Regions from separate parts of the Homo sapiens genome. Here region 2 is linked to region 1. The links are contacts of gene promoters, found by promoter capture Hi-C in blood cells and fetal thymus (Javierre and others, 2016). All regions are on one chromosome and are shown on one strand. The core of a region is centred on a gene start or on the middle of the fragment in contact, and the rest is flanking DNA. Distances in the headings are between cores, read along the strand shown.

Region 1 (4,183 bases), core at 152-2,651:
AGAGAATACGAGGCTAAATTAATATGACTTTCAAGATCTCCAAAAGGTAGGTTGATCATCTGTTCTGTTAACCATGATCCTGAGATATTTCCTTACAGATGAACTTTTCTCTTATAACCAAAGGTTTACAGTTCAAGATTATACACTTCATTGAGCACCCTGGTCCTGTGGTATTCTTTGCTGTATACCAAGTGCGGATTAATCCGCAGCTTTGAAAATCAAAGAGATATCACCAGTTGTTCATCACCACAGACATTTAGCTGGACTATAAATATTGGAAAGAAAAAAAAGTTGCTCGTGAAAATACGTGGTGAATTCCTTTAAAGAGAAACCGGTGAGAAATATTGCTTCACCTTAAAGCCTAGGATGGTAGCTACCGTTTTTCTCAAGACTGTCCTTACATAACCTATTGGCATGGGGAAAAAGTCAATGTTTATAAACTCCTTAAGAAACTTAAAATCTGGAAAAGGCAACTACGTATCATGTCAACTAAAGTAAGATAATTAACACTAGGATCAAAATTTGGAATCCACGTGAAAGATTCTGCAAAGATCACTTAAATCTCAGACCTTATGCACTATTTTAAATATTTATTTAAGCAGAAATAGAAAATCTTAGTCTATTATATTTCCATTTAATTTCCTGGACTTAAGAAATCTATGTGTGACTGATTGAGTTGCCTAATGGGGTGCAAACATAAAAATTTGCATTGGGATTCATTTTATTCTCAGTTTAAAATCAGTAGTATCATTGAAAACAAGACACTAATTTTCTGGAAGTTTAATTTATTTGTCCCTCTTATTATCGGGGCTGGTAAAAAAGGGCTAATTGAACACACATTCTAACAAAGATTGCAGCAACGCCTGCAAAGACGGGCCCAAGCGCACCGTATTTCTGTTAAGAACGTGTGATTTTTTTTTTCTGCGCCACCTTGTGGCCGTAAAACAACTTGCCCACGTGAAAGTTGACCGCTTTTTCCCGCGCCGGCAGAGCCTTGCTGAGAGCCGCACTGCGGGAATCCGCCTCCAGACAAACGTGCAGAAAATGGTGTCTTCCTTTACAACCAGTGACAGGAAACAGACTTCCCCTTCTTCATACTCCGTTTCCTTTATTCCTGAATTCCATTTCCTCGGCCCGCCCACCCACTGTCCTCAGACAGCCGTTTCCCAGTGTGACCTCCTTTTCCAGCTGCACTCTCCGGCGGAGGCCCTTTTCCCAGCCCGGACCCTCCCGGGCGGCCCTCGCAGCCCTCACCTCCGGGTCCCCGCCGCCCCTGCTCCATTACAGCACGATCCCCGCCACACAGGCCCGCCTCTCCCTCCGACAGCCAATCGCGGCGCGACCCCGCCCCTCCCGCTGGGGCCCGGGGCGCTAGAGCGCTCCGGGAGGCTAGGGGAGCTGAATTCTGCGTCTTCCTTTAGGCTGCGGCGAGACAATCCCCAGAGCCCCGCGGCCCGGCCTCGGGGCAGCCATGGACTCGCAGGAATTGAAGGTGAGCGGGTGAGCGGGTGAGCGGGTGAGCGGGCGGGCGGGCGGAGTTCCTTTGCGGCCTTTTGGCCCGGGGGCGCGGAGGGAGCTCGGGTGGCTTCGCTAGGCCGCTGTTTCCCTGCGGTGCCCCGGCTGCTCGGGTTGCGGGGTGGGCCTGCAGCCTCTGCTCACGGCCGGTCTCCGCGGGCCCTGCTGGGGAAGCCCAGGTCTGGGCAGCCCGCCCGCTCGGTGTTTCTGAATTGCTGGTCCCCATGCTGTTGGTTGTGTTTACTTTTGTATCATGTTTACTAGGAAAGCTTGGGTTACCTATGACACTGCGCCTCCGGGTGCGATTTTTAAGGACTTAAGGCAAACTAGTGTCAGCTCCCACACTGGACAGTAAAAAGAGCGCAGAAAGATTATATGAAACCCATTAAAGACGTAAGACTTAAAAGTGGAGGGGTCGTTATTTTAGGGTGATGGTCTTCTCTGTTTATCACTGACTCATTCATTCAGCAAATATTAATGACGGTCAACTTAAGAAAGGCTGATATAAAACAGTTAAAGACATGAGGCTTGAAAATAAAATAACTTTTCGGATGTTGGTCTTCTCTATTCATTTGTTCACTGAATCACTCGTTCAGCAAATATTTATGAAGGGTTACTGTATGTCCATTAGAAGCTGGAGATAGCAGTGAGCAAAACTGAACAGTTTCTGCCTTCTCAGATTTTACAGGCTAATTAATGCTGGGGAAAAACCCTAATTCAGTTGACTCAACAAATATTTACTGAATGCCTCCTATGTGTCTAGCACTGTTCTAAGCACTGAAATAATAAAACCAAGAAAAACTCTTCCAATCTTGGAGCTTACATTTGAGTAGGAGGAGTCAGACAACAAGTAGGTAAATGAAATGTGTATCCTGTGAGATGGTGATAAGTGGATGGAGGACAATTTGGCGATGTAGGAGGTTAGGGAATGCTGAAATGTCTTGTTTTTCTGCCTGAAGTTTTACATTATCCTCTGTTCTAGCTATCCCCCTATATCCTTACATTTTTTTATTCCCTTAAATGTATTATTTGCACTGCCACCCAAATGAACATTTTAATAAAAACACTTTAATGTAAAATGTAAAAATGGGCCTCCTCATTACTTAGACTTGAGGTTCAAGTCCAAGTACTTAATATGAGGCTTTTCACCCCACCTTCGTCTCCAACCTCATCATCCAATACTCTCTGTCTCACTTAAGCCTCCAGAGCAGAGAATAGCAAACTTTCTCAACAAAGGGCCAGATAGTACACATTTTAGACTTTATGGACCGTATGGTCTATCACATCTAATTGGCTTGTTCAAAACAGCCATAGACAATACTTAAATGAGCATGGCTGTGTTTCAATAAAACTTTATTTATGAACACTGAAATTTGACTTTCATGTAATTTTCATGTTATGAAATATTTCTTTTTTTTCCTTGACAGCTGGAAAATATAAAAACCATTCTTAGTTCACTGGCTGTACAGCCAGCCAGCCAGATATGGCCCACAGAGTGTGGTTTGCCAAACCCTGCTCTAGAGTATGGAGTGGCTTTTAGTCATCTTCATCACCACTGCCATCCCAATGTACCATTGATGACTTGTTATCTGTGTTGTTGCAGTTCCTCTTCCTAACTCCTGTACCTTCCTCAAGAATCATGAAAAGGAAATAGGAAGAGCGTGTACGTGTGTGGAGGGAGAATGAGGGGTTTGCAATTCAAGAGTCAGCTCTGAAATCCTCCCCAATAATCTTTCCCTTGATTTTAGTCATCCATCCTCCCCTCACACCACATTCAGTTTTCAATGCTGTCAAAATGTTGCTATCCCACATTCCCAAAGGAGTTTATAAGCTCTTTTCTTACATTTACTACATTATATTTCAGTTAGTCTTCAGATTACAGTCTCATCTGAAAAATGTAGGTTTTCCGGGGGGACAGGAACCATGTCTTACTCATTTTTCTATTCATAGTAGCTAGCCCAGTGCCTGGGTACTAGTAGGCAGTCAGTAAATGTTTTGGATTGAATAACCTAACCTGAACCAAGGCAGTAGCATTAGGTATGTTTAGTGGGAGGTAGACTGGAGAAATAGAAGAACCTACTAAGTGGTTAGACTTAGAGAGACTGGGCAAATAGGAAGGGAGGATTCATGAGTAGCAGGGTAGCAGGTGGAAAATGGAAATATGAATCTGGAACATAGACAAGAGGTCTTGGCGCAGGACACATTTTTTTTTTATTCCATTAACATATGGGATGCAGAGGAACTTATTTTTTTCAGAATAGAACTCTTATACTATGATATCTTAATTAATTCTCACAGTGACCTGTACATTTGCATTACTAACAGCATTTTATAAATGAGCAGACTGAGGCGTTGTAAGAAGGACCAGAGATTCTTTTTGCCTTTAAATTCGCGTCCTTTTTATGGTGCTATGCCACTGCCTTTCAGGAGGATTATAGATGCTTAGTGATAGTGTGCAGAAGTCAAGTAAGGTATTAAACGTGTCCTTAGTTGTGGCAAAGTAAGAAGTCATTCTGCAACTTTAGGGAATGGAGCATTGGAGGAAAACTGTGTTTCACTGAAATGTGTTGTGGGGGTCTGGAGATGGGGTATGGAGCACACTTTTAAGAAACATGGCTAAAAAGGAGGTTAGGGAGCAGTGATCACAAGGAGGGAGGCAGAGTAAAAT
Region 2 (4,017 bases), core at 899-3,398, 2.3 Mb before region 1:
TTCCTTTCTATTTTTAACATCGCTCACTGAATGTACTCTTTATGCATTGAAATAAACCTTGTTTATATTTTAAAGGCACCCGCCTCCATCCCCATCTTTCAATTTAAATTTAGTAATGGATTTTCCGGGAAAAGTGCATATCAGTTGAATACTTCTAAAAAACATATATTTCTAAGTTTTAAGTACCATTTTACCCAATTGTTTACAGAAACATTAACTCTAATGCTTTTGTATAATTTTAAAATATTATTCATATTCTGTTCTTCATTTATAAAAATGATGCCAAAGAGCAATGCCAGGGGACATTCTTCTTTAAACCGATTTACTGTAGAAATGATGGATGTGCACTGAGTCATCCACTCAAGCAAGTCTTCATCCTGGTAGCCATTTGGAAAGCGGTTGACTAGAGACCGACATGTAGTCTGTGACTGGGGAACAGTTGCTTTTTGTGGGAGACTAATTGATCTGTGTTTGATTCAATTCTGTGATATTGATCTTGACGGCATCATGTTTTCCTACTAAGTCCCAAGAACATTCCTGGTCTTCATAATCCCACTTCATGGTTTGAAAGTCAAAAATAGAAATTCATATGACAAAATGGAAGTCATATTCATTTGATCATTTTTCTTTTCCTTTAAAAACAGTCCTTAAAAGTTCTTTGGGGTAGGGTGGAGGCAGCACTTGAAGAGGTCAGCAGCCATGGCTTGGTATAAAGAGCTCCCCTGTTCCTCAGAGGCCTAGAATTTGTTTATGAAGGGCTCTGTTTCTTGACAGACATGACAAGACACAGTTTTTGAAGTCCTCCGCATCAAAGAATGTACACTTAGTTCAGCATGAACTTCTGCTTCAAGACCAGAGCGAGGTAGCTGCTTTACTCCAACTTTTGTAATGCTCCAAGAGATTAAGTGCCCTCATCTTCAGTGGACATCAATGTTTTGATTAGACAACTAACTTTCCTAATAAATTTCTGGGCTTCTTCTGAATAATCTTTCAAAAATTTTAGTGAGATTTCTGTACATACACTCGGGAGACAAAATCATGATATCCCTAGAGTTTTTATTACATCCTCATTATTCTTACCTATTTCTTCAGCAGTCCTAGCAATGAGAACCAGACAAGATCATCTTGGCCAAACGACCAATACTATTGGTTTACTGCCCCGTTTCAGTTGGAGACAAGAACGGTGGATCCTGGTCACCTCCACGGAGGGAACACAGAGAACATTCACTGTTAAATATGACACCTATAATTAGGAAAACCTATGGTTTTACCATAGCAGTTTTACAGACGAGGTTATTTTTGGGGTGTTGAAAAAACAGCAATTAAAAGCTTCCAACACAGTTTATTCATGCCCCAATAAATTATTTCCCCACCAAGTATACGCTCTTAAAGAAACGCCTGATGTCTGGCCTCAGTGTCCTCACGGGCTAACGTGGCAATTATTAAGGGTGTAGAATTTGAGCAAACTTTCTAAACCTCTCCTGCATGTCTTATTCTAATTCCACAGCCCCTTAAATCGCCTCCCTGGGATCCAGGCGGCTTGGAAAAAATGAAGTCTGAACAGCCAGAGACCTAAGGAATCAAGTTTCATTTACTAAGAAAAACTAGAAGGACTGCGATTAGATTAGGCAAGGTGGGAAAGGGATACCGGCAAGTAAAGCGCCGGAAACTTACAACTTGGGTTATTTTCTAACTGGCGTCTTGCAAAGGGACACCATGTAGGTATCCCGCTCGTCAACTTGTAAATGAACTTCAGGTTCTCTTTGGTGGCAGGAGAATTCTGAATGTGAGAACCTGGCGGCCGTTCAACGACCCCGCCCTCGGGGTCCCCAGGGGGCGTCCTCCGGCAAGCCTGATCGTCTGGGGCCAAGGCGCAGGGCGAGCAGGGAGGGAGGAGGAGAACCAGGGCCGGTGGCCCCGAAAGCACACACAAAGCGGCCTGACTCCTTTGGTGGGAACTTCCCCGGCCGCCAGCGGAGCGGGAGCGGGAGGGGGCGGCGGAGAGGGGGGGCGGCGGTTCCCCTCGCCGAGGCGGAGAACAGCGCGCGCTAGGCTCTGGGCGCGCGGCGAGCGCAGCGGCCGCCGCCTCCTCCCTTCCCCGCCTCCGCCGGCGCTGCCTCCTCCCTCCGCCCAGCTCGGCCTCCCTTGCTCCCTCCCCTCCTAGCTGGCTTCGGCGGGGACGGCGGCGGCGGCGGCGGGCGGGGAGGGCGTGCGCCGGCCGAGAGGTGTCGGCGGCGAGGCAAAGGAAGTTTCAAGTGGAAGGTCGTCCGTCGGCCGGCGCGTCCTCCTGCTCTCCTCCGCAGCATCATGGCGGAGCCGAGCGGCTCGCCCGTGCACGTCCAGCTTCCCCAGCAGGCGGCCCCGGTGACAGCGGCGGCGGCGGCGGCCCCGGCGGCCGCGACAGCAGCGCCGGCCCCGGCAGCTCCCGCGGCCCCGGCCCCGGCCCCGGCCCCGGCGGCACAGGCTGTCGGCTGGCCCATCTGCAGGGACGCGTACGAGCTGCAGGAGGTTATCGGTCAGTGCGGCGGGCGCGGCGGGGCCGGCACAGGCCGGGCGCCGAGGCCGGGCGGGAGGGGGCGCGGGATGCTGGGCTAGCCTGCATGCACGCCCTGGAGGCAGAGAGGCCGGCTTCGGGGCCTACTGGCTTCAACAGTTTTTTTTTTTTTTTTTTTTTTTTTTTTAATTTTTAATGTATTTGTTCGTTCTATGAGCGTTGGTGCTGCAGGAGGCGGCGCGGCGGATGTGACTCGCACTGCAGACGAGCCGCATGCTGCAAACTTTTATCTCAGGGATCGCCGGGGCGGTGGAGCGGAGGACCAGGCGGCGCCGCCGCATCTTCCTCCCCCCGCGTGCCGGGACCGCAGCCCGTGGCCGGTGGCCACGCGGACAGGCAGCCGCGGGTGGGGTGTGGTTGCGGGGGCCCCGCCCTGGGTTTCCAGGGCCCCGGGGGCCGCGTCCTGGGGGACTCTGCGGGCGCAGCCGCTCCTCTGCCTCCCGTCGTGACCCTCTCGTCGTGGGTAACGGGGCCACGTAGAAGCCGCGGAGGCCCCAGTGCTTTTCTGAGGCCGGGGAGGATGCTGGCCTCTCTTCCTGACAGCCGCCACTCCACGCCCGCCTTGCAGCCCGGCTCTCCGCGCCACTCGGCGCGCCCGGGTACCCGCCTCCCTCCGTGCCAGGGTGCGCCGCCTGCCGCCCAGTCCGGCTCCCCGGGGAAAGCGGGTGCCCTGGCCTCCTGCCCTGCACCGGGCCGATGCTTCCCTCTGTTTCAGGCCGAGCTGCAAGAGTGAAATCCGAGGCTGCCGGTGATCTGCTCTCTGCCTTTCGTTGCCTTCTGGCCGGCTCACAAATATCACCTTATCTTACATTTTTAAATACCTGGCAGAGTCGCAGGGCTCGGCGTTACTTTTCCTTGGGCCAAGCACTTGAAGGGCCAGGAGATTTGTTTTGTCCCTTGACTTAGAACCTTCCCTATTGGATCATCCAGTTTGAGAGTCTTGTCACTTAGGGAAGCCTCCAGGTTAAGTGGGCCCTCAGCGTCTAACCTTACTGACGCAGGGATGGGATGTTGCCTTTCCAGAATCTTGGTATATAAGTACAGCGATGAAAAAGGAGTTCAGAATATTTATCTTAAGTATTTTTTCTAACTTTCACTTCAAAAAATTCTTCACCTCCTTTTAAAAAAATTAAAACAGATATAAAAATTTCACTAGGTGTTTAAATGAGCCTTTATCACCTGCTATTGGGGAATAAAACAGCATAGACGGAAATATATATATAAATATATACATAAAAATATGTGAGAAAATGTTGGGCAGGTCCGTAACCTAGGATATATACAAGCTTCAGATAACCTATAATAGGCATCTGTAGACAAAATTCTTTGAAAACCCAGATCTTTCATAATTTTTGACCAAAGACTCTAAAGGGATGAGTCTTCATGTCACTGCCTGAAATAGCTTCAGGGGCTTCTCAAAGCCTGGAATATTCCATGGAAACCTCTTTAACCTGGCATATAGG

What was found. The method cuts DNA at HindIII sites, captures the fragments that hold promoters and counts their contacts. A CHiCAGO score of 5 or more calls a contact.
Region 2: a contact is called between the fragment with the promoter of STK39 here and the fragment with the promoter of TTC21B in region 1, in 1 of 17 cell types (activated CD4 T cells). The highest score is 5.1, in activated CD4 T cells.

What each region holds. Positions count from the first base shown.
Region 1 is chr2:165,950,994-165,955,176 of GRCh38, reverse strand. TTC21B (tetratricopeptide repeat domain 21B) reads left to right here and starts at 1,401. Exons shown (of 29, transcript NM_024753.5): 1 at 1,401-1,492. The coding sequence starts at 1,472. RefSeq lists an enhancer at 637-1,386 and a silencer at 1,151-1,550. The HindIII fragment of the contact is 9,565 bases long and covers 1-1,786 here.
Region 2 is chr2:168,245,726-168,249,742 of GRCh38, reverse strand. STK39 (serine/threonine kinase 39) reads left to right here and starts at 2,148. Exons shown (of 18, transcript NM_013233.3): 1 at 2,148-2,515. The coding sequence starts at 2,308. LOC107985959 (a long non-coding RNA gene) reads right to left here and starts at 1,782. Exons shown (of 5, transcript XR_007087282.1): 1 at 1,675-1,782. RefSeq lists silencers at 1,943-2,192, 2,403-2,452, 2,813-2,862, 2,953-3,042, 3,063-3,262. The HindIII fragment of the contact is 2,511 bases long and covers 1,332-3,842 here.